Regions from separate parts of the Homo sapiens genome. Here all the other regions are linked to region 1. Evidence: promoter capture Hi-C in 16 types of primary human blood cells and fetal thymus (Javierre and others, 2016). All regions are on one chromosome and are shown on one strand. Each heading gives the region's core, a stretch centred on a gene start or on the middle of the fragment in contact. The rest is flanking DNA. Distances are from core to core; before and after follow the strand shown. Region 1 holds the start of SNRPE (small nuclear ribonucleoprotein polypeptide E). Region 2 overlaps PLEKHA6 (pleckstrin homology domain containing A6). Region 3 overlaps PLEKHA6 (pleckstrin homology domain containing A6). Region 4 holds the start of KISS1 (KiSS-1 metastasis suppressor). Region 5 has its middle 8.4 kb from the start of REN. Region 6 holds the start of ETNK2 (ethanolamine kinase 2). Region 7 overlaps ETNK2 (ethanolamine kinase 2).

What was found. Contacts are between HindIII fragments. The CHiCAGO score rates a contact against its expected background, and 5 or more counts as called.
Region 2: a contact is called between a fragment that was not itself captured here and the fragment with the promoter of SNRPE in region 1, in 2 of 17 cell types (endothelial precursors and erythroblasts). The highest score is 5.7, in endothelial precursors.
Region 3: a fragment that was not itself captured here is called in contact with the fragment with the promoter of SNRPE in region 1 in 1 of 17 cell types (endothelial precursors); the score reaches 5.8 in endothelial precursors.
Region 4: a contact is called between the fragment with the promoter of KISS1 here and the fragment with the promoter of SNRPE in region 1, in 5 of 17 cell types (M0 macrophages, endothelial precursors, M2 macrophages and 2 more). The highest score is 8.6, in M0 macrophages.
Region 5: a fragment that was not itself captured here is called in contact with the fragment with the promoter of SNRPE in region 1 in 1 of 17 cell types (endothelial precursors); the score reaches 7.2 in endothelial precursors.
Region 6: the fragment with the promoter of ETNK2 here is called in contact with the fragment with the promoter of SNRPE in region 1 in 8 of 17 cell types (endothelial precursors, M2 macrophages, M1 macrophages and 5 more); the score reaches 17.9 in endothelial precursors.
Region 7: a contact is called between a fragment that was not itself captured here and the fragment with the promoter of SNRPE in region 1, in 16 of 17 cell types (neutrophils, M0 macrophages, M1 macrophages and 13 more). The highest score is 27.4, in neutrophils.

What each region holds. Positions count from the first base shown.
Region 1 is chr1:203,859,687-203,863,647 of GRCh38, forward strand. It overlaps SNRPE (small nuclear ribonucleoprotein polypeptide E), which reads left to right and starts at 1,913. Exons shown (of 5, transcript NM_003094.4): 1 at 1,913-2,027; 2 at 2,510-2,536. The coding sequence starts at 1,974. RefSeq lists enhancers at 1,695-1,989, 1,798-2,057, 2,443-3,018. The HindIII fragment of the contact is 9,598 bases long and covers 1-3,961 here.
Region 2 is chr1:204,352,122-204,356,082 of GRCh38, forward strand. The region is part of intron 1 of PLEKHA6 (pleckstrin homology domain containing A6); the gene reads right to left. Among named protein-coding and RNA genes, the nearest start is that of PLEKHA6, 5.8 kb to the right of the region's middle. The HindIII fragment of the contact is 1,387 bases long and covers 1,262-2,648 here.
Region 3 is chr1:204,218,982-204,222,942 of GRCh38, forward strand. PLEKHA6 (pleckstrin homology domain containing A6) reads right to left here. Exons shown (of 23, transcript NM_014935.5): 23 at 1-3,798. Among named protein-coding and RNA genes, the nearest start is that of GOLT1A, 7.0 kb to the left of the region's middle. RefSeq lists enhancers at 3,120-3,621, 3,622-3,961. The HindIII fragment of the contact is 4,983 bases long and covers 1-3,961 here.
Region 4 is chr1:204,193,861-204,197,821 of GRCh38, forward strand. It overlaps KISS1 (KiSS-1 metastasis suppressor), which reads right to left and starts at 2,631. Exons shown (of 3, transcript NM_002256.4): 1 at 2,516-2,631. The HindIII fragment of the contact is 3,737 bases long and covers 2,058-3,961 here.
Region 5 is chr1:204,172,753-204,176,713 of GRCh38, forward strand. No RefSeq gene overlaps it. Among named protein-coding and RNA genes, the nearest start is that of REN, 8.4 kb to the left of the region's middle. RefSeq lists a promoter at 1-3,961. The HindIII fragment of the contact is 1,412 bases long and covers 1,056-2,467 here.
Region 6 is chr1:204,149,733-204,153,693 of GRCh38, forward strand. ETNK2 (ethanolamine kinase 2) reads right to left here and starts at 2,312. Exons shown (of 8, transcript NM_018208.4): 1 at 1,863-2,312; 2 at 1-230. The coding sequence starts at 2,120. RefSeq lists an enhancer at 1,391-2,090. The HindIII fragment of the contact is 8,626 bases long and covers 1-3,961 here.
Region 7 is chr1:204,129,609-204,133,569 of GRCh38, forward strand. It overlaps ETNK2 (ethanolamine kinase 2), which reads right to left. Exons shown (of 8, transcript NM_018208.4): 8 at 1,454-2,648. The coding sequence ends at 2,576. Among named protein-coding and RNA genes, the nearest start is that of ERLNC1, 9.8 kb to the right of the region's middle. RefSeq lists enhancers at 271-774, 775-1,277, 1,294-1,830, 1,831-2,366. The HindIII fragment of the contact is 8,100 bases long and covers 1-3,961 here.

The DNA.
Region 1 (3,961 bases), core at 663-3,162:
GCCTCCTGAGTAGATGGGACTACAGGCGCCTACCACTACGCCCAGCTAATTTTTGTATTTTTAATAGAGACGGGGTTTCACCATATTGGCCAGGCTGGTCTCAAACTCCTGACCTTGTGATCTGCCTGCCTCAGCCTCCCAAAGTGCTGGGATTTACAGGCATGAGCCACTGTGCCCAGCCCTGGCTGAAATTTTTTAAAGGAAATAGTTATCCCATGCATTTGCCAGCTTTGTGTAGTTTATTTATTTATTTATTCTTATTTATTTTTTTGAGACGGAGTCTCGCTCCGTCACCAAGGCTGGAGTGCAGTGGCATGATCTCGGCTCACTGCAACCTCTGCCTCCTGGGTTCAAGTGATTCTCCTGTCTCAGTCTCCCAAGTAGCTGGGATTACAGGCATGTGCTACCATGCATGGCTAATTTTTGTATTTTTAGTAGAGACAAGGTTTCACCATGTTGCCCAGGCTGGTCTCGAACTCCTGACCTCAGTTGATCCACCTGCCTCGGCCTCCCAAAATGCTGGGATTACAGGCGTGAGCCTGGCCGCTTTGTGTAGTTTAAAAATCACTTTCAACTCAACCCCTTTCTGAAGTCGTTATTACTATTATCCCCATTAAACAGAAGCCCTCAGAAAAGCTAATTTTGATTCTGCCATTTGCCCTAATCCGTGTTCCCTTAGGCAAGTCCTTTCAAAAGTCTAAACTTCAGTTTCCTCCTCTATAACATGTGTATGCCAATTAAGTGAAATCTCTGCCAGGCCACAAGCCATGACACAATGGAAAGGTAGGTGGACTTTGGGGTCAGGCACACCTACAAATTCCAGCTGCTCCACTTAGTAGCTGTGTTATCCAGGGAAGGACATGTTCTGACACTGGCTGACGCCTAACTGTGTGCACACATAGACAATTATTTCATTGAATCTTTAAGCCCCTGAGTAAAGTTAATCTTTACTATAATCTCCGTTTTGGAAACTAAGCCAAGACATGGCGAGGCTGAGTAATTTATCCTTGGTCACCAACTCTAAAAGAGCTGGATTTGCGCCCAGCATGTGGATTTCAGCGTCTTCCTGGTAAATCGCCACCCTCAGTTGCCACCTGAACAGTAACTCTCCACGAAATGGATGAGAATTGAATCCGTAACTGGAGGGAACCAGGCGTCTGGCTTTGGAATGCAGACCGCCTCTGGCCGACTGCCAGAGGTGGGAGGCCTGAAGTTTGGGCTCCTTGCCGCCCTACCCTTTCCACCACAACGCTGCTATCAAGCCTAAACTCCAGCAAAATAGGCTTTAGGAAAGGCACGAAATTAACTCATTTTACACATAGAGATACACACTGGGACGATTTTGGCTTTTCAAGCTAACTCAGAAAATGGAGATACAGGCCGGGCGCGGTGGCTTACGCCTGTAATCCCAGCACTTTGGGAGGCCGAGGCGGGCGGATCATGAGGTCAGGAGATCGAGACCATCCTGGCCAACATGGTGAAACCCCGTCTCTACTAAAAACACAAAAAATTAGTCGGACGTGGTGGCAGGCGCCTGTAGTCCCAGCTACTCGGGAGGCTGAGGCAGGAGAATCGCTTGAACCCTGGAGGCTGAGGTTGCAGTGAGCTGAAATCGCGCCACTGCACTCCAGCCTGGGCGACAGAGCGAGACTTCGCCTCAAAAAAAAAAAAAGAAAAGAAATTGGAGACAGGACGGCACTCCTCCTACCACGGCCACTATACAACCGAAGGCACCTCCTCCCGCCTCCCTCCAGGTGGCGCTGTAGGACCGGCCCACCTTCCACAGCGCAGACGCCTCAGTTTGGCCTCCCTCGGAGGCCATGCAGCGAAGAAACGTGACTTCATGGCTAGAGGGGCATTTCCCAGGAGCCGCCCATGCCGCCGCGTGACCTTCACACTTCCGCTTCCGGTTCTTTATTCCGGAAGTTGCTCTCAGAGGCAGCGTGCGGGTGTGCTCTTTGTGAAATTCCACCATGGCGTACCGTGGCCAGGGTCAGAAAGTGCAGAAGGTTATGGTGCAGCCCATCGTATCCTACGCAGGATGTCAGGACTAGGAGGTTCGGGTCAGAATACGGGGTGCGAAGGCGCAGGCTGAGGGCAGGCCTGGGATAGTGGAGTACGGATCCACATCCCATGAGCCCCCGGGGCTACCAAGACTGGAAGAAAGCGCGGGTAGTTGAACCGTGATGGTGGGGAGGTGGTCTTGGGGGGACCCCTGCCGTGGGGAATGCAGGAATGGACGCGGCAAAAGGAGGGAAGAGAACTTCAGGTGCGGAGTGAAAACGGGAGTTAACGGTTTTGGGAAACTCCAGGGGGATGAAAGTGGAATGGATGTTCTTTAGTCTTTAGAAGACCCGTAACGAATGCCCAGCTGGGCACTTGTTGTTTGCGTAAGCACCAGACCTCGCGTTTAGTAAACAAAGGTGAGACGGGAATAGCGTCGTCCGGTTGTTTCAGGAAGCAGAGTCTATGCTGCTTTTGTATTTTTTCCTTAGCCACTGTGGTGCAGAACCTCATCTTCAGATACTTACAAAATGTACGTAAGTTGCTTGTTTCGTAACTACTTTTTAAATAAGAGGTGAACTGATTTAGTTTTTTGTGTTAACCTGAGCGATCGCTGTGTTCTAGAATTTAAAAATAGATGTAACTGGAGATTGGAGGGTAATTGAGGGGAAGGAGTACTTAGAAAGCACTAATGTGATGAAGTGGTGTGTATCCATGCCACTTCCCAACATGCAAAGAATTGTATCCATTACTTTGCAAGATCAAAAATACTTTTTAATTCCAAAAAGTATTATTAGCAGACTTGACCATGGTATTTGGGCATCAGTAGTTTTGTTAGTAGTGATTATGGCTAGAACATTGGAACCTCTCCCCTTTAGGATGAAACATTGGAAGAAAAACCCAGCCAACTTAAACCATGTCAAGAGGTGGTGTGTTTAATACCTGTGGGAAAACTTAAAGACGAAAAAAGGAAGAGAGAAGGGGTAGCTTCAGAGGAGTTTAGTGGCAGCTGCTTTCCTTTGAGGGAAATTTTAGCAACTTAAATTTTATAGTGTGATAACACAACTGAAAAACATTAATTTCAGGTGATAATAATTCTTAACCACCTGAATTGAGGGCTCCTGTCCTAGTTGTTAGGTGTGTGACATGAGAAGGCTTTGTTTTGGAACTGGATTTTGCTGCAGGAGATAAGCCCTTGGTCATTAGAAATTACTGCTTTGTGCTATGCTGTCAAAAACTTTCACTCTTAATAGATTGAGACCAGAAGCAGTAAGAAATATTGAGTCCCAAAATCACAGGAAAATTATTAGCTTATACAGTTCCAATATAGAACTTATTAAATGAAAATTCTTTTTGAGGTTATTATTATTGGTGAATAATTCTTAGATATGGGCTAATTAGTTAAAACTTTTGACTTACATTCATTACAATTTTTTTAGGAGCCATATTTCTCTTGTCGTTTGACCAAAATGGTTAGGTTTTGTATACTTCAATTTTTTGGGGGGCGGGGGGCGGGGAGATCTTGCTTAATGTTGCGCAGGCTTATATTGAACACCTGGCCACAAAGCGAATTATTCCGCTTTGGCATCCCAAAGTATGGGAACGGTGTGAATCGAGGCACCTGGCCTGTTTTTCTTTTCTTTTTTTTGAGACGGAGTCTCACTGTGCCCAGGCTGGAGTGCAGTGGCGCGATCTCAGCTCACTGCAACCTCTGCCTCCCGGGTTCAAGCGATTCTCCTGCTTCAGCGTCCCGAGTAGCTGGGACTACAGGCGTGCGCCACCACGCCCAGCTAATTTTTTTTGTATTTTTAGTAGAGATGGGGTTTCACCATGTTAACGAGGATGGTCTCTATCTCTTGACCTTGTGATCCACCTCCCTCGGCCTCCGAAAGTGCTGGGATTACAGGCGTGAGCCACCGCGCCCGGCCCTATTTTTCTTTTTTTAACGTTTCCACTT
Region 2 (3,961 bases), core at 705-3,204, 490 kb after region 1:
CCAGCACTTCCGGAGGCCAAGGCAGACAGATCACTTGAGGCCAGGAATTTGAGACCAGCCTGGCCAACATGGTGAAACCCCATCTCTACTAAAAATACCAAAATTAGCCCGGCATGGTGGCGCATGCCTTGTAATCCCAGCTACTCAGGAGGCTGAGGCAGGAGAATTGCTTGAACCTGGGAGGCAGAGGTTGCAGTGAGCCAAGATCGCACCACTGCACTCCAGCCTGGGCCACAGAGCGAGACTCCGTCTCAAAAAAAAAAAGAAAAGAAAAAAGAAAAAAAGACTATCCAGTGCCACATGTTTTCTTCATATTATTTTATTTCATTTACTCCTTGCCGCTGCGGAGACTTCAGTCTCCTAACAGGATAGCTTAGGAAACAGAGACCCAGAGAGGTTAAGTAATTTTCCCAAGCTGAGACCCGGCTTAAGGTTTCTGCCTTGGGGAACCTCCTAGGAGAGTCTATCCTTTTCTTTTTTGGCCACCAACATATGTAGCATATGTCTGTATCATATACAGCATGGTCGTTTGCTCACTCATCTGCTCCCTTACAAGAGCGTGAGTTTAAAAATTTTTTTTTGACCGGTCACAGTGGCTCACGCCTGTAGTCCCAATACTTTGGGAGGCCGAGGCAGGAGGATCACTTGAGCCCAGGAGTTTAAGACTAGCCTGGGCAACAAAGTGAGACTCTGTCTCTACAAAAAATAAAATAATCAGCCAGGTGTGGTGGTGCATGCCTGTGGTCCCAGCTACTCAGGAGGCTGAGGTGGGAGGACTGCATGAGCCTAGGAGGTGGAGACTACAGTGAGCTATGATCATGCCACTGCATTCCAGCCTGGGGGACAGAGTGAGGCCCCATCTCAAAAATAAATAAATCAAAATAAAAATTCATTTTTGCAACCTAGTACCTGCCTGGTACATAAGGAGCATGCAGTAAGTATGTACCCAAAGCAAATGGTAGGGCCAGGCTCCCAAGTTCTACCCACCACTTAATTCCATGCTGTCTCTACCACATCACCCTGTCTCATTCACTCAGCCAATCAAAAAGCAGTTACCAACCATTTTGTGACTGGCTCTGCGTGAAACATCACAGATACAAATAAGACAAATCAGGCCATCTCTTGCCTTGAAGAAGTACAGTGGAGTGAGAGGCAAGGCTGAGGAGAACAGGGAATAAATTCCCCACCACTGCCCTCACCCAAGGCTTTCTCATGAGTGTTTCTCTGTGCCTGCTCCTTGGGGCCTAACCCTCCCATCCAAAGCTTCATATATCCAACCAACATTTGTTGAGCACCTACTATGTGCTAAGTACTGCCCTGTAATCACTCATAGTTGTGGGGAGAGTTGGCAGGATTAGAAGACAATGGAGTCAGGAATTACTGGACAGCAGAGAAGTGACTGAGAAGGTCAGAGTCCAAGAAGCAGTGGCCAGGGCCACCGGGAGCATATGGAGAACTTTAAAGAGCTTTCACATTTGATGTGATCATGGACTTTCAGGTCGCATTGCTTTATATTCACACCTACTTCCTACACCTAACTCATTTGATCCTTGGTGATAAGGGCAGGGTGGGAACTATTATTCCCATTTTAGAGATGAGGATACTGAGGCTCAGAAGGGGAAAAGCATTGGGTTAGGAGGAGGAAACCTGGGTTCTAGACCTCACTTGTCATTCAAACAGGTCTCAGCACTACGCCTCTATCACCATACTCCCACCCGCACCACCCCACCAAAGCAGGTTTTTCTTCCCTGCTCCGATCCCCTTCAATTCCCCAGTGAGACAGCCCCAGTTTCAAGTGAGGTTAGCAGGATTGCTGGATAGCCTGGATCCAGTCCCTGGATAGCCCACTGCTGCTCATGTGGTCCCAGGAACCAAGCAAAACCAGAACAATGACCGCACCACCTGAGGCTAGGTAGAATTTAAGAGGCTAATTGCAAGAATTTGTCTAATTAAAAGCAAATTGGCACCTGCAATTATAGATGCCTGTTCTTCTCAGATCATGATGAGCCAGACTGGGGGGACACAATGATGTCAGAGCTAAGGAGGGACCTCACCTCCTCCTTAAAGAGGGCCCTAGGCCACCTCACTGCAGAAGTGGAGCTCCGACTAACCCGAGGAAGACATAGCTGAAACCAGGGTGGACCAGCTACCATGAAGCCTCAGCACTGATGCATGTTTATCAGATCAGCACTGGCAGCTCCAGCTCTATTTCCTGAATTCACACGGTGAGGACCAATCCTTTACAGAGACTAAGTGGGTGACCTGGGAGGACTTGACAGTATCCCTGAATACCAGCTACCCTAAAAACATTTCCCACCAATCCACCTCAGCACCCATCTGGTCTTTGAGTTAAAGCCTTGCCTTCCGAAATATGATGTTCAGTAACTGACATTTGTGTGATTATTCTCAGTTTACAAAGCACTTCCATGTACATTACTCACCTAGGTATCAGCTAGGTAGGTGGTAGTGATACTAACCCCAGTTCTCAGGCTAGGAAGTGAAAGCTCAGAAGGATTAAGTAACTTCCACAAATCATATGGCTACTACTTGGGTCAGGATTTGAACCCATGTCTTCAAATTCCAGATGAGCCTTCTCTCCATGACCACAGCAGGAGCTAACATACGGATCATAATTAGTTTATCAGATAAGCTTGCGCTACTTTAGAAAGTGCAAAGAGGTCTCATGGGAATGAGAAATGCTGGGAAGATTTGACAAGGGAGAAATCAAGACAGGATGTGCACACGGCCGTGCAGGGGCGCGGACAGGGGCTGCAGGAGTACCAGCCCCAGTGGAGTATCCTATAAGCCATGCACCTGCCAGAAGAAGCCCCCAGCAAGTGTGCCATTCCAGGGGATTCTCCTGGAGGAAGTGGCTGCCCTGGGCATGTGTGTGGCCACCTCACCACATTCTGTGCCAGTAAGGCCACAGTTCATGTGGGGGCTCCAGGAAAGCTCAAGAAAGAACTTGAGGGTCTTTGGAGGAACAGGGGCACTTAGTCTTGAACAAGGAGACTTGGGAGGGCTTGGAGGGAGAGAGACGATTATACCTGTCTTCAGATATCTATGTTTCTCATGCAAATCAACAAGGTAATAATAACAAACACATTTATCACTTATTCTGCTCAGCAGGATTCTATGTGCTTGCATATGTAACCTCATTTATCTTCACAAGAAGCTTATGAGATAGGTAGCATTATCTTCATTTTACAAATGGAGAAACTGAGGCACAGAGAAGTAAAGCCACTGTTAGCATCATATCACTGGTAAATGGTAGATTCCAGATTCAACCTGAGTTTGACCCCATAACTACGTTTTGTTTGTTTGTTTGTTTGTTTTGAGACAGAGTCTTGTTCTGTCACCCAGGCTGGAGTACAGTGGCACGATCTCGGCTCACTGCAACCTCCGCCTCCTGGGTTCAATGGATTCTCCTGCCTCAGCCTCCCAGGTACGTGGGATTACAGGAAGCCAGCACCACACTTAGCTAATTTTTATATTTTTAACAGAGATGGGGTTTCACCATGTTGACCAGGCTGGTCTCAAACTTCTGGCTTCAAGTAATCCACCCGCTTCGGCCTCCCAAAGTGCTGGGATTACAGGCATGAGCCACTATTCCTGGCCAACTGTGATCTTAATGACTCTGCACACACTGCCTTTTAAGAAAAGCCAAAGACTCGAACACACAAATATGTTTATTACATGGACATATTATATATTGCATTGTTATTAATATGGACAATGTCACATTTGATAAGTCTCTTTTTAAAAATTGTCTCACTCCCAGTCAAACAGATGGATCGAAGCAATAAATGAAAACCATGAAAAAGTTGTAATACTCAATGTTGATGCTCATGGCACACACACACACACACACACACACACAAAAAAAATCCATTCTCAGACACAGCTGCGAGGAATGTAAATTAGTGCTTTTGAACGAGGTATTTGGCAAAATATTTTAATA
Region 3 (3,961 bases), core at 389-2,888, 360 kb after region 1:
ACCTGTTTCAGTCAGGCCATCCCTCCTCCTGGGGAGGGGGCTCATTGGCTAGAAAGATGCTAAGGGGATGCTACAGCTGTTTGTCCCCTGACAGAGATTCCATCTATCTAACCTTCACCCTTCTTCTAAGGCCACTTTTATGCTAAATAAAGACACTGAGATAATAAATTTCCTTGTACAGTTTATTGTCTAATACTAGCAAATCAAATTGGCCCCAATATGTGCATAAATAGATATACGTGTGTGTGTGTGTGTGTGTGTATATATATATATATATATAATGTGTGTGTATATCATATTTTTTCTTAGTTTTAAGAGCTGCCAGGTAGAGGGTGCCTAAAGGGGAAAGGAATTGGTTCCCTCTTGCCGTAGCCAGCCCTGCCCAAGAACATGCCTCTCCCAAAGGCCGGAGAGCAAGTGTGCCACTTGTGCCCTTAGAAAATCTTCAAAGTGACAGTAGCAGTATTTGACTGCAGCCTCTTGGTTATTGATCATGGAGGTAATGTGCTCATTGAGAAGGCCCTGGATGAATAATCAGAGCTTCCCCAGGTGGGTCACTTAGCTCTGGACCCCCATCTGGGCTCTGTTCATTCAGAGCAGGATGTTCTAGGCTGGCGACAGGGTGTCAGTAAATGCCCCAGGTGGGAGGCCAGGCTTCAAACGCTGGCCAGGAGCTCTGCTCTAGATTCCCAAGCCCTTGATTTCAGACCTAGACAAAGACTTCCATCCTGCCCAAATCCTTGCAAGGCCAGAGACCCTTTCCCCACTTTGATGGTTGACAAAGGCTAAGCAGCTTGGAAGGCTGAGCTGGCTTAGTTCGGTGCCCCAGTGGCAGCCTGCTGGGGTAAAGTCCCGGGGGTTTCTTGGGTGAGGTTGAGATGCCACCTTGTCTGTAGGACCCTCCTTGGCCCAGAGGCTGATTTCACAGTCTGGATACCAGACTGAGGTACCATGCCTTTGGTACAGCCCCCAGAGAGAAAGGTTGCAGAGGGGGGATGTCATAAATGTGACCCAGGCCAGAGAGGGATCAAGTGAAAAGGAGTGTGACAAGTCCAAGGAACTTGTATGTGTCTGTGCTACAGGGCCAGGGATGGCCCAGAGGATCCCAAGCCGCCTCCTCTGGGCTTCGCACCGTCTCGTACACTGACATCCTTAGTGCTGTTTGGCATAGGCTGCTGTTACGCTGTCTGCTCTTTCCAGCAGGCTGATGAAGAGGGGTAGTCTAGCAGCCCATCTGGGGTGCATGCCTGCATGGGTCTCCTTTGTGCATACAACTGCAAACAGTTCCTTCCAGAGGATTCACGCCTGACAACCGCAGAGGGTCATCAGGAGCAGACAGTGTAATAAAATCCTTAGGCCAGGACTTCCGAGGGAATGCCCTGCCCCCGGCAAGATGCTTTCTGGGTGAGCTCTGGGGACCAGCCCTTTCGTGACTGGGGAATAGGATGGAAGGAAGCCACTGTGGCAGAGGGACAGGCACAGGGTTGGGACCTAAAGGCAGTTACCCCATCTCCTCACCTCATTTGCCAATTCCATTCAGACATTGCACAATTTGAAAATAGATTTGCTTTTTTTAAACAAAAGCATAAAATAGATGTCTTAAAATAAGTCTTTCCTCTCCCCTTCTTTGGATCAAAAAGGCAAGGGGTATGGTCTTGATATGCTAGGAATGATGTGGAAAATAAGGGAGAGAAAAACAGGCCTGGGCAGGAACTGTAGGAAAAGATCAGACATCCAAACAAATATATTACATATATAGATCTATAATATGTATAATCTCCATAAAACATATATTAAGGCATGTAAAGCAACATAAAGAGCCAGCTTTATGAAATAAGAGATGAGAGAGAGGTGGCAGAGGCGCAGACATTATTTCTTGGTATTTTACATGTATTTCTAAAAAATATTACTTTAAAAAAAAAAAAAGAGACGGACAAAGTGGCAGGCATGGAAGGCCCTGAAAAATCTGTTTCCTGTGGAGGGAGAAAGGCTTGGGAGAAAGAGAGAGAGAGGAAATGACCTGGGAGCCAATCCCACCTGCCAGTCTGCAGGGGAGAAAGGGCAGGTTTGGGGTGCTTGAACTGTGAAGATGGGAAATACAGCCAAGGGTCACGTTTAAAAAACCTGCTAGAAGTGAAGATCGGTGGAATCCTCCCAGGCTGTAATCCCTCAGAAACATGAGAATATCCTAAGCACCTACAACAGTGCCTGGTACATAAAAGGTGCTCGATAAATATTTGTTGAGTAAATTGTCATCTTTACTTGCATATGAACCAGTAACTGTCCCAGCCATGAAGGAGTGCAGAGGAATTAGTAGGTGTTCTTGGGACCGCTGGAAGTCAGGCTGAAGCCTCTGAGCGGCAACTCTAGCAGAGAGAAGGCCGAGGGGCCACGGTGTCTTCAGTTTCCCTCCTTCCTCCTCTCTGGCTACATTCGTCTCCAGGTGGGTGGAGCTGAGGAGGAATGCGTTTGCTTTTCTCTGTCTTCCCCGCTGCCCTCCCGGGGCAGGTGGATCATGAGAGCGCCTAGCCTCAGCCAGTCCTCGTCTGGGATGCCTGGGATAGGGGGATAGGCCTCCCAGATTAAGGCCTCATCCCCCCTCCTCAAGGCGTACTCTCAGCTGGCCCACTGCACATTCCAGGGGGAACAGGGCAAGAAATATCATGGAACTGGGTAGGTAAGGCCCCAAGGCTGACCACACCCTACATAAGACAAGTCCTTCTCTCTGCCCCTTACCCCAGGATGGCGAGGCAGACACCAGGCACAGACCTACTAACAGCCATCTCCCAGGCAGTCGCTACTCAACCCCCTTCACCCAGATCCCCACACCAAGCATCTCCACTGAGGCTGCATGTGCTCCACTGGTGGGTCCTCCTAGGGATGAGGTGGGAGGAGCAGAGGAGACAGTCTGGCACTGCACTGGGCACTAACCTAAGGCTCCACCGGGGGAAACCAATCTGATATCCCCTTTCCATCTCCCTCCTTCCTGCTTGACTTGCCAATGTGTCCTGCTGCTTCCCCCTCCTTCCACTCTGAGGATCTCTCTCTCTCTCTCTCTCTCTCTCTCTTTCTGTCTCTCTCTCTCTGCTACCCTTCCCAACCTGCCCTCAGACACTGCACAGACCTGCTGTTCTCTAGCCACAGCCAGCACTGTTCCCTCTGGGAGCCAATGGCCTCTCCCCATCTCTCATCACCTTGTCTTTGGCTCAAGCAGGGTGGTCAGTCTCCACCGGACCCCAGCGAGCACCCATAAGCAAAGCACTGGGTTTGTGTCAAAGCCCTGGGTCCAGCTGAGGCAGTAGGGTGGGGCTGACGAGGATAGGGATGATGACAAGTGCTGTCCTTGGTGTCAGGCTGGCTCCAGAGGCAGTGTCCATCTCCTCTTCACCTCTAGTCCTCACATAAGATAGCCACAGGTGTGTTCTCCACCACGGCATGTCCCCCATCAGGGAATGTTCCACTGGAGTCACCACAACCCCAGCCAGGGCAAGGCTGAGGCTCCCTGTGACTTGGACATTAATGAGGATGGTGCTCCCCACTGTCATCTCAGGCCCTGGCCCAGGACCACGGTGTGAGTAGTGATGGCTCCAGGGCTGGGCATGGTGGGTGTGTGGACACTGAGGTATCCACGGTCCTCTGGCAGCAGCCCATGGCCCCAGCCTGGCTCCCTGCGGCATTCCCATGGGAGTGCAGGGGCAGGGGGCCAGGGTGGGGAGCCAGGACCTCAGGTGGGCAGAGGACGGCTTCAGAATGTGGCTCTGTGGAGCTTCACAGCATTGGCCTCAGCCAGGGCTTGCACTGGAGAAAAAAGAAATGGAGTGAGAAGAGTGCTGCACAGAGGAGCAAGGACTCCAGCCAACCTTCCCAGGAAAAAGAAGCCTCATCCTGCAAAAACCTGGCAGAAACCCACTCCGGTCCCTCAGTCCTGAGAGGGGAACAAAGGAAAGGAAGTCAGTGTTCT
Region 4 (3,961 bases), core at 1,381-3,880, 330 kb after region 1:
AAAAGTCACCAGACACTTTGAGACTGTCCAACAAACACGATTAAAGACAAAAGGCTGGGGAGGCAGGAGCAATGCCAGCTGAGCAAAAAGATTGTCCTGGCCTGACCCACAGCCTGGAGCCGCTCTCCCTGGGGAAGGGGGACTGGGGGATGAGAACCTTTTGTGCCCATCAGCTCCTAATGGTGGCTCAGGCCCATGCATCTCTCTGCTCTTGCACCCACACCCCCACCCCCCATTCCTCACCCAGCTCCCTGCAGGACTCAGGCATGGAGTAAAGAGTAAGAACCCTGAAATGGAATGAGGAGTACTTGAATCTTGCCCCAGCTCTGCTTTCATTCCCTGTGAAATGTGAGCAAGTCACCCCCATCTCCAGACCTCATTGGTCCATCTATAAAATAAGAACCCTGGATCAGATTGGCCACCAGCCACCTGCTCAGAAGTTTACTTATCCTTGCAGACTTTGATACTGTGACAAGTTGAAACCCAGACCACAGCTTTCTGCATTTACCTTAAGGCCCAGGGCTGGGGCACGGAGTAGAGGTAGGATTAATCCATTGGAGAGAATAGTGTAAAAGCATTTCAGACCGTGGATGCACAGGGTCTGGGTTGATTTGGAAATCACTCCTTGAGCACCGACTAGGTGCTGGTGCTGTGCTAGGTGCTAGGGGTGCACAGGTGTGCTAAGACAGAGTTGCTGCCCCCAAGATCTCAAGTCTAGCATGAGAAATTAACTCATCAGCAGATCATTTCAAAATAACACTGTAAATGACATACCGGATGCATGTGAATCCACAAGGGGATATGGGAGTCCAGGGGAACCCAACCTAGGAGGACCAGGCAGATTTTTGGCAGGGGGTGGCACTTGAGCTGTTTCTGAGCATGAATCGCTGAAAGGTTTACAGAAAGTGTTCCCAGGACGGTGCTAAGGCGCTGAAGCAAGGGCAGGGGCTGAGTGCAAAGGGAACTTCAGGCCCTCTAGCTAGACAAGAGGATGGAGCTTTGCATGGAGAGAAAGCTAGTGACAAGGCTGGGGGAAGGGGCCCTGCAGGGGCTTCATCCTGGAGGGGTCTGAGCCAGACAGGAATGTGGGTAGATGTACATTTCCGGTTCTCTGTGCGGAAGCAGGGTGGTGGGCCAGGAAGGAGGGCAGTGGGCTTGTGTGGTTGGAGGGTGGTACTCTTTCTTCCGGCTCCCCTTTCCCCCCGAGTGCCTCCTTCCCACTGTGGATGGCACTTACCATGTGCGCCATGGGACAACTCTGCCTGACCCCAGCACACACACACACACCCCCCACACCACACACATACACCACACACACCACACATGCACACACACACCACACACATATATACGCACACACCCATACACATATACACGCATACACCCATACACACACATCATACACACACACATACACCACACACACCACACACATACACCCATACACACACATACACATATGCCACACACACCACACACGCATACACACCACACACATATACACACATACACCTATACACACACATCATGCACACACACCACACACGCACACACACCACACACACATATACACACATACACCCATACACACAACATACACACACACATACACACATCCATACATACACATCATACACACACATACACCACACATACCACACATGCACACACACCACACAGATATATACCCATACACCCGTACACATACACTACACACCACAGATGCACACACACGCCACACACATATACACACATACACCCATACACGTACATCATACACACACATACACCACATACACCACACATGCGCACACACATCACACACATATACACACATACACCCATACACACATATCACACACACACACACACACACACACACACACACACACAGATTCCACTGCCCAGCCCATCGGGGCACTTAACATATATGGTAGAAATGAATTATTTGGAAAGGGGCCATGAGTGGCCGACCTGCTGTAGACAATTTTTGTGGTTCCCTCCACCCTGGGGGGTTTGTATCCAGTGAGTGACAGAAATTCCAGGCATGGTTGGAAAGCTTCTGGAGTGAAGTGGCCCCTAGTTCTTAGTGGGTAGGTAGATGCCCTTGGTTAGGCTTGTATTTGCCATCTGTAATTTGGGGGGAGCTGCTCAGAGGAGCCCCATTGCTCTCAAGAGCCCCGAGCGGTTCCCTAGGTCCATCCAAGCGTGTCTGTGGTCTCTAATTCCAGCCACAGCATTTATTTATTGCATGTATTCCTTCCACAGCAAGAGAGAGCCCTCGGGATCCCCAGAGTGTTAGCTTCACAAATAAAGTGCGACTCAGTGTATTCGCCCAGGCATCCCAGGATAATCTGGCCAGGCTGGTAAACAGGAAAGATCAGTGTCTCCCTCCCCTGCCTTTGCCTGCCTGGATGCATCTGTCCGTCTTAGAACGGATTCCCTGCTCCCCTCCAGAGCATCCCCAGGTCAGGGCAGACCCCCTTCCCAGGGGTGGACACTGCAGTGTGCCTACCTTGCCTCAGTCCTGGCCTGGGCAGGAGTCTGGCGGAGCCTCTGAGGTGACGAGACCACCTGGCTGGGTGAATGTCCAGAGGGTGGGCAGCTGGGCTCCCGGTCTCAAGAGTTCTCCCCAGCTCCCTGATCACATCCCTTTTATAAAGCCCGGGGTGACGTCTCCAAGCACAGGCCCACTCTGCCGCCCCTCCCTCCTCCTCAGACCCTCCTGAAGAGCATGGCACCTTGGGAGGCCTCTGCCTCCGGGCTCTGTGACTGGAGGCAGCCTCTCCTCCTGCCCCACCCGAGCCCTCCGAGGCGGGACTTTCTCCTTCTTACCGGCTCTTTCCATCCTCCACACCCTCTTCCCACCCAGAGGACCCATCCTGCCCCCAAACAACGTGGAAATGGGCTATCTGAGGAGGGTGGGGAGAAGTGTCAGTGTGAAATGTCTTGTTTCCTCTCCGAAGAGCCACAGACACACCTAGTCTGAATTAGACGTAGAAAACGACAGGAAGAGGGGAGGAGAAGGGCACAGGCTGACCCAGGGGCTCCTCACATCCCATGCTCCCAGCTCTGAGGGAAAGCCAGGTCAGCGTGGGTCTCCAGGCGGCTCCTAGACTGCGCCCTGTGACTGGCACAGGGTGGTGGTGGCAGAGATTCTCTCCTTTTTCCTTCCTTCCTGCTTCCCTTCTTTCCTCGGTCACTGAGCGCTTCCTCAGCGCAGGGTTTTGAGGTGAATAGGCTATGGACTGGTCAGAGACCTTAGGTAAGCAACCAGCTATGAGCAAGGAGGACGAAATGGGAGCTGCAGAAGGTGGATGCACCTGGGAAGTGCCAGGGGTGCAGAGAGGGGACTTCCAGGTGGCAGCACATCCAGACAGCCTGCTTGGGGGCCCCACCTTCTTGTCTCGTGGCACCCACCACCATACTATTTTGTGACTGCTCAGGTACAGCACTTTGAGGACAGGGACAGGCCCCCTTCCCCCTGTACCCTTGGCACCCACTCCATTGCTGGGCACATACAGAGAGGGCCCTCAATAGATATTTGCTAACTGCATGCATCGCAAGTGACTTTTGTCTCTTTCTTGAGCCTGCAATAACTCTCTATACCCTTGGACAAGGGGCTCTCCAGGGCAGAGACTGTTTCTTCTATCAGGCTGGGAGTCTCTGAAGGCAGGGGCTATGTCTCTACCCTCAGACAGGACGCTCTCCCAGCACAAGCTCAACCTGGTCGTCCCCTAATGCTGGAGAAGCATGCCGGCAGTCTGCAGGTTAGCACCCCTCACTTGTCTGATGCTTACTGTTAACAGGGGATTGCAAACATATTATTATCACACCCATTAGGGCTGTTAAACACCAGGACAGAAATGATAGCCTATGAGGACAGCACTGACCCTCATAGACCAAAACTTCGCTGTGGGGATGATGTGTACGTTGGCCTGTCCTGAAGCAGGAGGTGGTC
Region 5 (3,961 bases), core at 512-3,011, 310 kb after region 1:
CATTTCCTTTTCCCTGTAGCTTTACAAGCAGTCAAGTACAGCTCCCCAGACAGACATCTGGTCCCTAAATCCCAGGATGAGTGCTATTTATTCAGGCTAAGATGCCTATCTTGGCTTTTCCCTGATTATTTTTTAGGGCCCACTTCAAATATTACCCCCTCCTCCATGAAGCAGGCCCTGACTCAGCCTGGAATTGACTGCTTTCTGCTGTAGGCTTCCACAGCATGGCTACAAGCCCTTCTATGACAGCACCAACTTAGCTGCTTTTGCAGCAGAGTTCTTTATGTATGTATGAATATGATTTTTGCCCACAGTGGTGCTTAATATTTATTAAGTGGATGAACTAGTGAACTGCAATGGGCAGTGCAAAGAGCCCTGGGTTGGTGGTCAGGGACTTGGATCCTAGTCTTCATTCTACCATAAATTTGCTATGTGATGTTGGATCCCTCCTTTCTCCTCTTTGGACCTCAGTTTCCAAATCTGTACAGTGAAGCAGATGGCTGGATGGCACCAAGGGTGTCTTCATGCTCTGATACCCTAATATTCTAATATTCTGTGCCTCCAGGGTACTGCCCTCTACACCAGCTCCACACCAGCTGTGGGCAGTACAGACAATGAGAGGAGCTCATCTCTGTGGCTAATGTTTTGGCTAATTAATGTGTTTTGACCTCAGAGATGATAAGGCCCTTTCCAAACGATGGACCCTAGTGGTGATTTTTCAGGAACTGTGGTTGGGAGTGGGGGAATTATTTGGGGACAGGGGAATACTTTTAGATCCTTCATGGTAGGGGTATCTTGTCAGAATAAATGAACATTTATGAAGCACCCCTAAATTGCTCTTTCAGTCCTCTTTCATTTACTAGCAAATATTCATGGAGCCTTTATTATAATGTGAGGCACTCTGCTAGATGCTGGAGTTACAAAGTTCACAAAAATAAACACAGTTTCTGCTCTTGTTTATGGATCCCACCGTCTTGTGGAAGAGATAGATTATTATCATCATGCATAAATATAAAATAGCGCTGATGACTAGTGCCAGTCAGGGAACTCCAGGAAGCTTCCCTCCCACCCAAAATTATACTCGCATTGTGATCTGAAGGCTGCATTGGCAATGAATAGCTGAAGACAAAGAAATAGAGTCCCAGCAGGAACAGAACGTGCGAAGGCCCTGTGGAGAGAGGATGATGTCAATAAAAACAAAAAAAGCCAACATATCAAGAACAGAGAGATGAGAGAGAGCGGGGTGAGACATGTGGCCAGAGGCAGGAGCTGAAAGAGCTAACACTTACTGAATACTTACTATGTGCAAGATACCACTCTAGGTGTTTAATGCACTTAATTCTCACAATAACCATATGAGGTTGTAGCATTATATCACTATTTTACAGATGAGGACATTGAGGCCCAAGAGGATTCAAAAGGTAACTTGCCCAAGGTCCCACTGGCAATAAGGGCCAGAGTCAGACAGTAAGTTTAGGCTGTGTGGCCCAGAACCCAGTACATAGATGCGCTGAGTGTCAAACCATAAAGGTTCTTGCATCCCATGTTAGGAAGTTCTGTGTTTACCCTAAGAGCCATGGGAAGCTGTTGACCCATTAAGAAGTGAATGAATGTAATTAGATGTTTTTGCAGACAGGTGAAGAAGGGACTGATGGGCCAGGTGCAGTGGCTCACGCCTGTAATCCCAGCACTTTGGGAGGCCGAGGGGGGCGAATCACCTGACGTCTGGAGTTCAAGACCAGCCTGGCCAACATGGGGAAACCCCGTCTCTACTAAAAATACAAAAATTAGCTGGGCGTGGTGGCAGGCACCTGTAATCCCAGCTACTCTGAAGGCTGAGGCAGGAGAATCCCTTGAACCCGGGAGGTGGAGGTTGCAGTGAGCCAAGACTGCGCCATTGCACTCCAGCCTGGGGAACAAGAGCGAGACTTTGTCTCAAAAAAGAAAAAAAAACAGAAGGGAATGTTGTAATTAGATGTGTTTTGCATGTGTTTCGGCTGCAGTGTGGACTAGCAAGGAGTGGGGATGGGTCCAGAATAGCATGGCATATACCAGTTAGGAGGTCATGGTGCTAGAACTAGCTTGGTCTAGGGTACTTGGGCATGGTGAAGATGAAAAAGATTGGATGGATTTGAGAGAAATTTAGGAAATAGAATCTGCAGGACTTGGTGACAGATCGGATATAGAGAGTGAGGAAGAGATTGGTTTTTGGAGGCACTCTGGGTACATAGAGTGATGGAAGAGAACGAGGATTTCAGAAGGGGAAGAGGGTTGGAGAGACCATAAGTTTGAGGAACTGTTGAGTATGGATCTCCTTTGAGACATCCCAGGGGTGATATCAAATGGCAGGTGCATAAATAAACCCGGGTGAAAGATTTATGTGTTATTTGCAATTGGTGATTAATGCGACAGGTATGAATGAAATTAGCCAGGGAGAAGGTGAGCAGCAAGAAAGCCCTGGACTCTAAGCTTTAAGGACAAGCAGCAGAGGAGGAATCTGCAGAGGAGACCCCAAAGGAGTGGCCACAGAGGAAGGAGGAGAGCAGCAGGTGTCTCTGAAGTTGCAGGGAGAGACTGTTTAAGGAGAGATGGTGAGGGACAGTAGGTGCTGCTGCAGGGTGAGGTGAGACTTGGGTTAAAATGGAGACATGCGGGCCACTGGTGCTGTCAGTGGGAGCTGTTTTGGTGATTCAGAGGGGTGGGAGTCCACACAGGGATGGGTTGATGAATGATGGGAAGTGCTACGATGTGAATGTTTGTGTCCCCCAAAATTCATAGGTTGAAATTCTAACCCTCAATATAATAGTATTAGGAGGATGAACCTTTGGAGAGGTGATTAAGTCCTGATGGGATTAATGCCCTTATAAAGGGGGCCCAAGGGAGCTCTTTTTTCCCCTTCCACCATGTGAGCCACAGCAAGAAGATGCCACTCATGAACCAGGACAAAGGCCCTCGCCAGACACCAAATCTGCCAATGCATTGATCTTGAACTTCTCAGACTTCAGAACTGTGAGAGATAAGTTTCTGTGGTTTATAAGCTACCCAGTTTATGGTATTTTTTAATAGCAGCCTGAACAGACTAGGATAGAAAGTAAGAAGATGAAGACAACATAGTGTAGGCAGCTATTTTGAAAAGTGGAGGAGTAAAAAAGGGGAAAGAGGGTGACGATAACTGGAGGAGAACGAGGACCAGGTGAGAGGTTTTTCTCTTTCTTCCTCCTCCTTCCCTCCTTCCTTCTCCTCCTCCTCTCCCTGACGAAATGCTTAAAAGGTAGCTTGACTCTTTGTTCGGGGCTCAGTCCTTTAGATGTTAATCCGACTGGGTCGGTGCACCTAAATAATTAAATAATTCCTCCTCAACCCCTCGGTCTCTCTGATTCCTTAATTATCCCGCTGCACTGCCAATCTTTTCTAATGATGGGAGGGAGTTGAGTATATTTAATGCATAGAAAGCACTCAGTTGAGAGGAAGAGTTAATTAACGCAGTAGGATTCCTGGGAGGGAAGGAGTATACAGGGTGGGAAACAGCAGGATGGAGCAGACCCTCCACTGCAGCAGGAGGAAAGAAGGCAAGGCATGTGCAGGTGTTAGTGGTTGATTTGCTTGGCATTGGAAGCTGAGGGACTGCCTGTCTGGTGGCTGTTATCTTCTCTGACAAGTAGGAAGCAAGGACCTCTGCTGAGAGTTGGGGATGGGAGGGGGTTTGGAGGCATGAGAAAAATGGAGAAGCTCTGGAATCATTATGGAAAGTGGGAAGAAGGTGGCCAGGGAAACCAAGAGGATTTCTGTGAGGAATGAAGACATTTAATGGCTGGAGATCATGACTTTAAAGGAAGCCAGTTGGCCTGGTTCTCTGTCTCCCCCTACCAATACCACAGTGTCAGCTCCTTGGATACAGATGGAGAGAAAGTATATAGCTGGCTTCATCCAGGGCTAGGGTGATCAAAGATGAGGGACAAAG
Region 6 (3,961 bases), core at 1,062-3,561, 290 kb after region 1:
GGCTCCAGGGCCACACCCTGCATGTACTCATAGCACAGCCCATTCTGGAAGGTGCAGTAGAGTTTGGGGGCACAGCTGTGTGCTCGCAGCAGCTGGAAGTTTCTGACCTCATTCTCCCGGTCCACCAGCAGCTCCGTCCGCTCCCCATACACCCGGACCAGCACGCAGTCCTGCATGTCCTCCTCCACATAGCAGGCCACCAGCTTGTTGGTGATGCCATCCGTGAAGCGCTAGCATGGGGAGAGGACAGTGCGTGGGTGGGTGGGTGGGGCAGGATCTCTCTGGTCTCTCTCCTGGGCTCTGTAGCTCCAGCAGGAGGTGCTCATTTGAATGCCGAGCACAACCACCCCAAGCCCCCAGTGCTTTAGCCCAGTCACTCATGCTCCTCTCTGTCCCCAACCTTGGGAGTCTCCAGTCTCTATAGAGTTCAAGAAAAAAATGGTAGCTTGGGTTTAGCTCCCACACACTCCTGGGTGTGCCTCTAGTGAATGGGATTTGGCAGTGGAGAAATTTCCACACTACTTGGGAGGTAGACGCCTCCTGCTGCTCCTTACCCTCCACCCCAGTACGGAAAGAAACATCATGGACCAGAATGTGGCAGGGGAGGGCTGGGAGTTGCCCAGAACACTATGTCCTGACCAGCTGCCAATCACCTTGTGCCGGGCAGTGTGCTCTGCTCTACCCCTTGCCCCATCCAGTGGTGGAGGTACAAGGAGGGTACTGAGGTTGGCACCCATCCCAGGACTTTAGTGGCCAGAGGTCCTTACCAGAAAAGACAGGAGACAACTGGGCTGCGAGCAAGGTTCTCTGGACAGCAGGGTGATGAGGAGAAAGGAACCATGGAATTTACGGGGCACAATGTGACAGAGCTGGGAGGGCCCTAGAGGTCATCTGAACCAATTCTACGTAGGGAAACTGAGGCAGGAGAGGGGAGGGACTGGCAGATAGCACGTTAGATCAGTGCTGGAATTAACCTCAGGCCTGCTTGATGCCTTGACAGTCTTATACCAAACTGGGCCTTTTATTTTGAAAACGCTACTCCATCCCCAGGGCGGGTTCTGTCAGCCTCCACACTTGGTTAAGAACCTCCCCACAACTTTGCCCCCACCCCACCCCAGAATGCCTGTCTGCATGGAGCCGCTACCATTCCAGCACAAGCTACAAGCGCCCCACTCGGCACCTTCCTCCACAGGCAGCCCACAGCGGGGCTGGAGGTAGTCAGCTGGGGAGTTAGCCTAAGGCTCAGTGAGTGGCTCTGCCCACAGGTGTGTCCTGGGACCTGTGTCCAGCTGGGGCTGGGGAAGATGGCCTGTGTGGGGGTGCTGAGCCCGAGCCTGCAGCGATGGTGAGGAGCTGAGTGCTAGCTGGAATTCCACAGGGTGGCTCCTGGGACCCACAGGGGCAGCTCAGAGCCTGGAGGATTTGCTCCCACCATGGGGTGGAGAAGGGGCAGCAATGTATGCATGTATGGCTGGGTCGGGGGGGCGGGGGGTCTCTTAAAAGTTCCCGCCTCCTCAGGTTTCAGAGCTGGCTGGGTACGCGCTTCTGGTCAGCGAGGGGCACCAGCACGCAGCGACAGGGGGTGCGGCCCGCACACGCAGCATGCCGACAGTGGGCAGGTGGCCACCAGGCGTGCCTAAGAGCCCCGGGAGGAGGGGGGCGTGTGCAGGGCCAAGGGAGGTGTGAGCCTAGTTTTGGTAGCGACGAAATCAATCCGTACACAAACCACGTTCCAAACCTTTCTTGCGCAGCAGCCGCGCACCCCTGGGACTGACACCCGGAAGGATGCGAGGACTGGGTCCCCGCATCCCCCTGGCAGCCCTGGCAGGACCCCATCCTCGGCCCCGCGCCCACTCCGCTACCTTGGTCCGAACTTGCTCGGGTTTCCAATGCGGCCGCAGCTCCTGGATGAGGCGCAGGGCCCCGGGAAGGATGTCGTCCGGGTCCACGGAAATGCCGAAGTACGCGACGGCGGCGGCCCTCGGGGGGCCCGGCGGCTCCCGGCAGCTGGCGCTGGCCGCCGCCTTCTCCTCCATGCCCCATGAGCACTGCGGGCAAGGCGTGTGCCTCCTCAGGTGAAAGGACGCGCGCGGCTGAGGGGCCGAAGGGGGCACAGCCATTCCCAGCAGCCCCACCCCCTCGGAGCCGCGGCAGACGCTAGCCCCGGCGGGGGGGTCCGGCGAGGGAGTGGGAGTGGTAGAGGAGGGGCCAGGGGAAGTCCATGACTCAGGCGCGAGCTGCCCGCTTCGATCGCCGGCTCGCGGCCCGCCGCCCACCGCCGACCCCGGAGCGCCGCGGCCCGCCGCGATTGTGACATCACGGGCGGTGGCCCGCGGGAACGCCCCCGGCCCGCCCCCGCCCCGGCCCGCGGGCCGCTGGGGAGCTCAGCCAGCCACCGCCGGCAGCTGAGGCCGCCGCTACCTGGAGCGCGGGGTGGGGGCGACGCCCCCCTGGGGGCCGGTGACGCCGGGGGTGGGGCCTCCGCTGGCTCCGCCCCGCCCGGGTCCCCGCCGGGGCTGGCTTCCCGGCCTCCGAGGCCGCGAGACTCCAGCTCTCTCCCGGTAGCCTGGGGTGGAGGCGGGGGAGGGCTCGTCCTGCGCCCCCACCTCATCCTGGAATAGAGAGATCCGCTGCTCCCACGACGTCAGCTTGGGCTCGCCCCTCTGTGCCCCTGCTCCGTGCCCCCAGTCCCCGGACCCCGGGAAATGGCTCTGCAGGGGCGGCCCCTGCTGCATCTCAAAGGTCCTTCCCTGCAGAGAGCCCCCCCCCACACCCAGGCAACCTCCCATCCCCGACAGAAACACACTGCATGAAGAGGGGACATTGGGTGATAGCGTTGGGGTGAGAGTGTGCCAGTCCAGCAGACTGCGCTGTCCCCTGGCAGGCCACTGAACAGCCAGGGCGTTGGAGTGTTTGGGCACATCCTGGGCAGGACTTGGGGCCAGACTGAGTTAAAGCCTCCCTCCCATCCTGAGCGTGTGAATGGAGCCAGGTAGCAGGCCAGCGGTGTACCCGAGCCCAGTGCTTTGCTTGGCATTCGGGGTGTGAAGTGGACAGACCCTCGCGCGTCCTGGGGAGGACAGCCAAATGCCTGGCGCAGCTAAGGGCCAAAGCAAGGCATGGTGATGGCTGGGGGTGGGAAGGAAGGGGAAGGGGTGACAAGGTGTCCCGGGGCAGGTTGCTGTGGGGAGGAGACATGGAGAGAGGCCAGGCCGGCTCAGGGGGCAAGTCCCTCTACTAGCCAGATTCTCCTTTGGTCATTCTCTGCCACCTTCTGAGCAGGGCTCTGTTGGCTGCCAGCCCTATTTGTTGTAGTGAGGCCTCAGGGATCTCACTAGTCACTATCTCTCACTGCCCCACCCAGAAAAGCGCCTTCAGAGAAGGGGCCCTTTCCTATTTTCCCAGTTACCCCTTTGGCCTATCCCGGAACCTCTCAACCGCAAGGCTCCTATGCTTACTGCGGTCCAGAATCCAGCTCTGCCTAGCAGAACTTCTGCAGTGATTGAAATGTTCTATATCTACTGTCCAATGCAGTGACCACTAGCCACGTTGATTTTATTAAAAAAATTTTTTTATTTGAGACAGAATTTCGCTCATGTTGCCCAGGCTGCTGGAGTGCAATGGTGTGATCTCTGCTCACCACAACCTCGGCCTCCTGGGTTCAAGCGATTCTCCTGCTTCAGCCTCCTGAGTAGCTGGGATTACAGGCATGTGCCACCACGCCCAGCTAATTTTGTATTTTTAGTAGAGACGGGGGTTCCTCCATGTTGGTCAGGCTGGTCTTGAACTCCTGACCTCAGGTGATCCACCCTCCTCGGCCTCTCAAAGTGCTGGGATTACAGGCGTGAGCCACCGCGCCCGGTTGATTTTATTCAATTTTAATTAATTTTAATTTTAGTGTAAATAGCCACATGTGCCTACCATATTGGATAGTGAAGGAGATAATGGGGGTCGTGCCTGC
Region 7 (3,961 bases), core at 1,093-3,592, 270 kb after region 1:
TCTCCGGCAGAGACCGAGGGGCAGAGCCCGTTGGGAAGGTGAATGTGCCCAGGAGTCCTTTAACTAGAGCTCTTTGCTAAGAGTCCTGGAAGGGGCCCGAGGGGGTGGAACCCGGATCACACTGGGAGGCTCCCAGGCCTGGTGCTCAGCCAGGAGGACAGGAGTGCTGGTTAGCCTGGGGTGGCAGTGAAAGGAGCCAAGGTGGAACTCCCAGACTTTGAGGAACAGGGTTGTGTTCCCTGCCACCACACCGGCTCACTCCCCTGGAGGACTGGGGGAAGGAGAATGCTTTCTCAGAGGCGGCAGTGGGATGATGTCTGCTGTTAATTCCTTCCCATACAGATGGTGGTCAGGACCTTAGGGGCACAGGACAATACCCGGGGGGGGGGGGGGGGCTCTGTCCCAGCCATTCCCTACTCACCACTGCAACACTTATCTCCAGCGCAACAGCATCAAGACCCAGGAGGCTGGAAACAAAGCTGGCTTCACAGTGTTAATTCTGCCCTCAATTCCAGAGGTGGCTCAGAGAGGAAGAAGGAGCGGGGACACTGCTATTTAGTCCAGACAGGTAGTGTCTATGATGACCACCTGACCCCACAGGTGACCCCAGGGGGCCCCTACCTGCCCAGCCCTGGCACCATCCCTATGCCTGGGCACCTCTTTCGCTCGTGTCCCCCCACTGTCACCCCCCGAGGCTGCTGCCCATGGAGGGCCTGGCTATGCTGGATCACCATGACCTTGAAAGCTCCAGCTGCAGGTGCCAGCTCCAGTGGTTGCCATGGCACCAGGGTGCTTTTTGCAGGCAAAAGCCAAACAACCAGAGTCCACCTGGCAGGCTGCTGCTGCTGTTGCCTCTGCTGCCCCTAAGGGCACTGGGCACTTACTGGCAGGGGGGCAGTCCTGGAGCAGCTGCTGCCCAGTGCACAGCCTGGGAAGTATAGCCGGAGTGACTGGGCTGCCAAGAGGGGTGCCCCCTTCTCATCTTTGAGTTTCTGCTCTTCCTTCTGGCCTTCTGAAAAAGTGACGGATTGGTTCCAGAAATCACTCCTGCCTGTTCTCAGGCAGAGCAGCCCCTTCCCCACCCCACTGACAGCTGGGAGCCAGACATGACCGAGGAAGGTGTCCTGAGCACTTCTATTTAGAATGTCACTGGTTCATCTCCTGGGTCAACCAAAGTCCTTGTAATCCACAGCCTAGTTCCCCCTAAGCAGTGCTTTACCGGGTTTAACTGGTAGGTTCTACTAAGAGAGTCAAAGGCACAGAAGCTGAGTGAGAGAAATAGGGGGCCCTGCCCAGAGCCTTCGGAGCTAGGTGCACAGGAGGATGTGTGCAGGCGGCTACCTTGACTTCAGCATGAAGCCCAGGTGGAGGGGGGATATCAGGAGGGGTTACAGCACCCCTCAGCCCCCACGCAGGGGTCAGTTCCTCACCATTGTCACTCAAGACACAGCAGTCCGGAAATGAGCATTTTAATGCAGAAAGAAAACCATGATAATTTACAAATGAATCACTTTCTGGGCCAGAGCCAGGAAGGCCCCAGGAGCTGTGAGGGTAGAAAGGGAGGTGGAGGCTGTTGAGTGTCCGGGCAACCAGTTTAGTCAGCACCTTTCTGATGGGATCCTGCCCAGGCTCTCCCACGATAGGCCCTGGGGGGCCCTGGCCCCCACCCCATCCTCTTGGCTCCCTCTAGTCATTCCAGATAGGAAGACCTCGGGTCAGCTTCAGGACATAAAGTAGAGCTGGAGAGACATCCCTGGAAGGAGGGCCTGAGGGCCAGGGAGGGAACAAGGCAGGAGACTGCTGGTTCTGGTTTTGGCCACCTCACCCTTGGCCACGTCCCCTCCGGCTAAGCCACAGCACAAAGCAGAGCCAGGCTCTGGAGGCCCAGGGCCTCACCACTCCCTCTCCTGTCCCCCCAGCAGGGGGACAAAACAGAAGCACAGGAGAGCACGTTGGGGAGCATGTTTCCTCGGGCTGAGGTTTGATTGGATCTGGTTTGGAGAAGGTGAGGGATCTCAGAGGAGGTGGCTGCTGGGGAAGATGTCATGCTCAATTCTTGGCCCCCACCCATCACCAAGATAGGTACATCCATGTGTCAGAGTTGGTGTGATGCTGGTTTGGAGCTCAGCACCTCCCACATGGGGCATGCAGGGGGAGACGGACTGGAGGCTCAGGGCACTGGAGGTAGAAAGGAGCCCTCCCCGCCTCCTTCCCCAGGCCAGGAAGGGGTAAACACACATATAAGGCAGCCCCAATTCCAGCAGGGCCTGAGGCTGGGAATGATGTGTTTCCCAGGGGTGGTTATGGTTCAGGACCTGGCTGCAGGCACTTCCTCCCAAGCCTGGTGGGGTGAAGGGGACCCCCGGAAGGGGGTCCTATCAGCCCCTCCAGACAGGAGAATGAGGTCTTCAGTGGCAACCACTGGGGTCTGGCGGCAGGGACAGAGCCTTCTCCCTGGACACCCATGTGTCCCCTCTCCCACCCTGTCCAAGGGTGTGGATCCCAGAGTGCAGAATTGAGCTCTGGAGAACAGGTCTGGCCAGACAGATGGGTAGGGGAGGGATGGGGTGGCTGGTCACTTTGGCATCTCCAAGGCTGACGCTTGAGGCTTCACCTTGAAGTACTGGTTGAATCGGATCACTGCGTACCTGTGGGGAAGACAGAAGGAAGCTGGGTGTGAGGAAGAAAGCCAGGTGGGCCCTGCTGGGGGTGCTGACATCATGAGAAAAGTTTTTCAGTGGCTCTAGGCCTATCTAAGTCTGAGCAGATCAACCCCAACCCAGACTGATTAGTATTATTATTTCTTTTGCTTCTTTTTAAAATTTTTAATATTTATTTATTTTGAGACAGGGTCTGGATCTGTCACCCAGGCTGGAGTGCAATGGCATGATCTTGGCTCACTGCAACCTCTGCCTCCCGGGCTCTGATGATCCTCCCACTCAGCCTCCAGAATAGCTGGGATTATAGGTGCACGCCACCACACCTGGCTAATATTTGTATTTTTTGTAGAGACAGGGTTTCACCATGTTGCCCAGGCTAATCTTGAACTCCTGAGCTCAAGCAATCCGCCTGCCATGGCCTCCCAAAGTACTGGGATTACAGGCATGAGCCACCGTGCCCAGCCTATTTTTTTTTTAACTTCAACTACATTTTTTTTCTTCTTAGATCAGACTAGAGAAACCCTTCCACAAACATGCTTGTTTGGAGTTTTGTTTTTACCGTTCTATATTGTTAAGTATATTCACATTGCTGTGCAAATGAATATCTACAACTTTTTCCTTTTGGACAACCGAAACTAGACCTATTAAGCAATACTCCCCATTGCTCCCTCTCCCCACCCCCTGGCAACAATTCTACTTGGTTTCTATGGATTTGACTACTTTAGTTATCTCTTAAAGAACCATATTTGTCTTTTTGTGACTGGCTTATTTAGCGTAATGTCCTCAAGATTCATCCACGTTGTAGCAAGTGACATTTCCTTCGTTTTTAAGGCCAATATTCTATTGCATGTATAGACTATATTTTATTCATTCATTCATCTGTTGACAGACAGCTGGGTTGCTTCCATCTCTTGGCTACTATGCCAAGAATAATGTTGCCATGAACATAGGTATATAAATATTTCTTTGAGAGTTTGCTTTCAATTATTTTGGCTACCCACCGAGAAATGAGATTGTTGGATCATACGGTAGTTACATTTTTATTTTTTGAGGAACCACCCTACTGTTTTCCATAGTAGCTCACCATTTTACATTCCTACCAATGGTGCAGAAAGGTTCCAATTCCTGCATATCCTTACCAACAATTATTATTTTCTGTTTTTTAACAGCAGCCATCCTAATGGGTGTGAAGCGACATCTCACCATGCTTTGCTTTTTTTTTTAATTAAATTTTATTTTTTTATCATTTCATTTTATTTTATTTTATTTTTTTTTTTTTTTGAGACGGAGTCTCGCTCTGT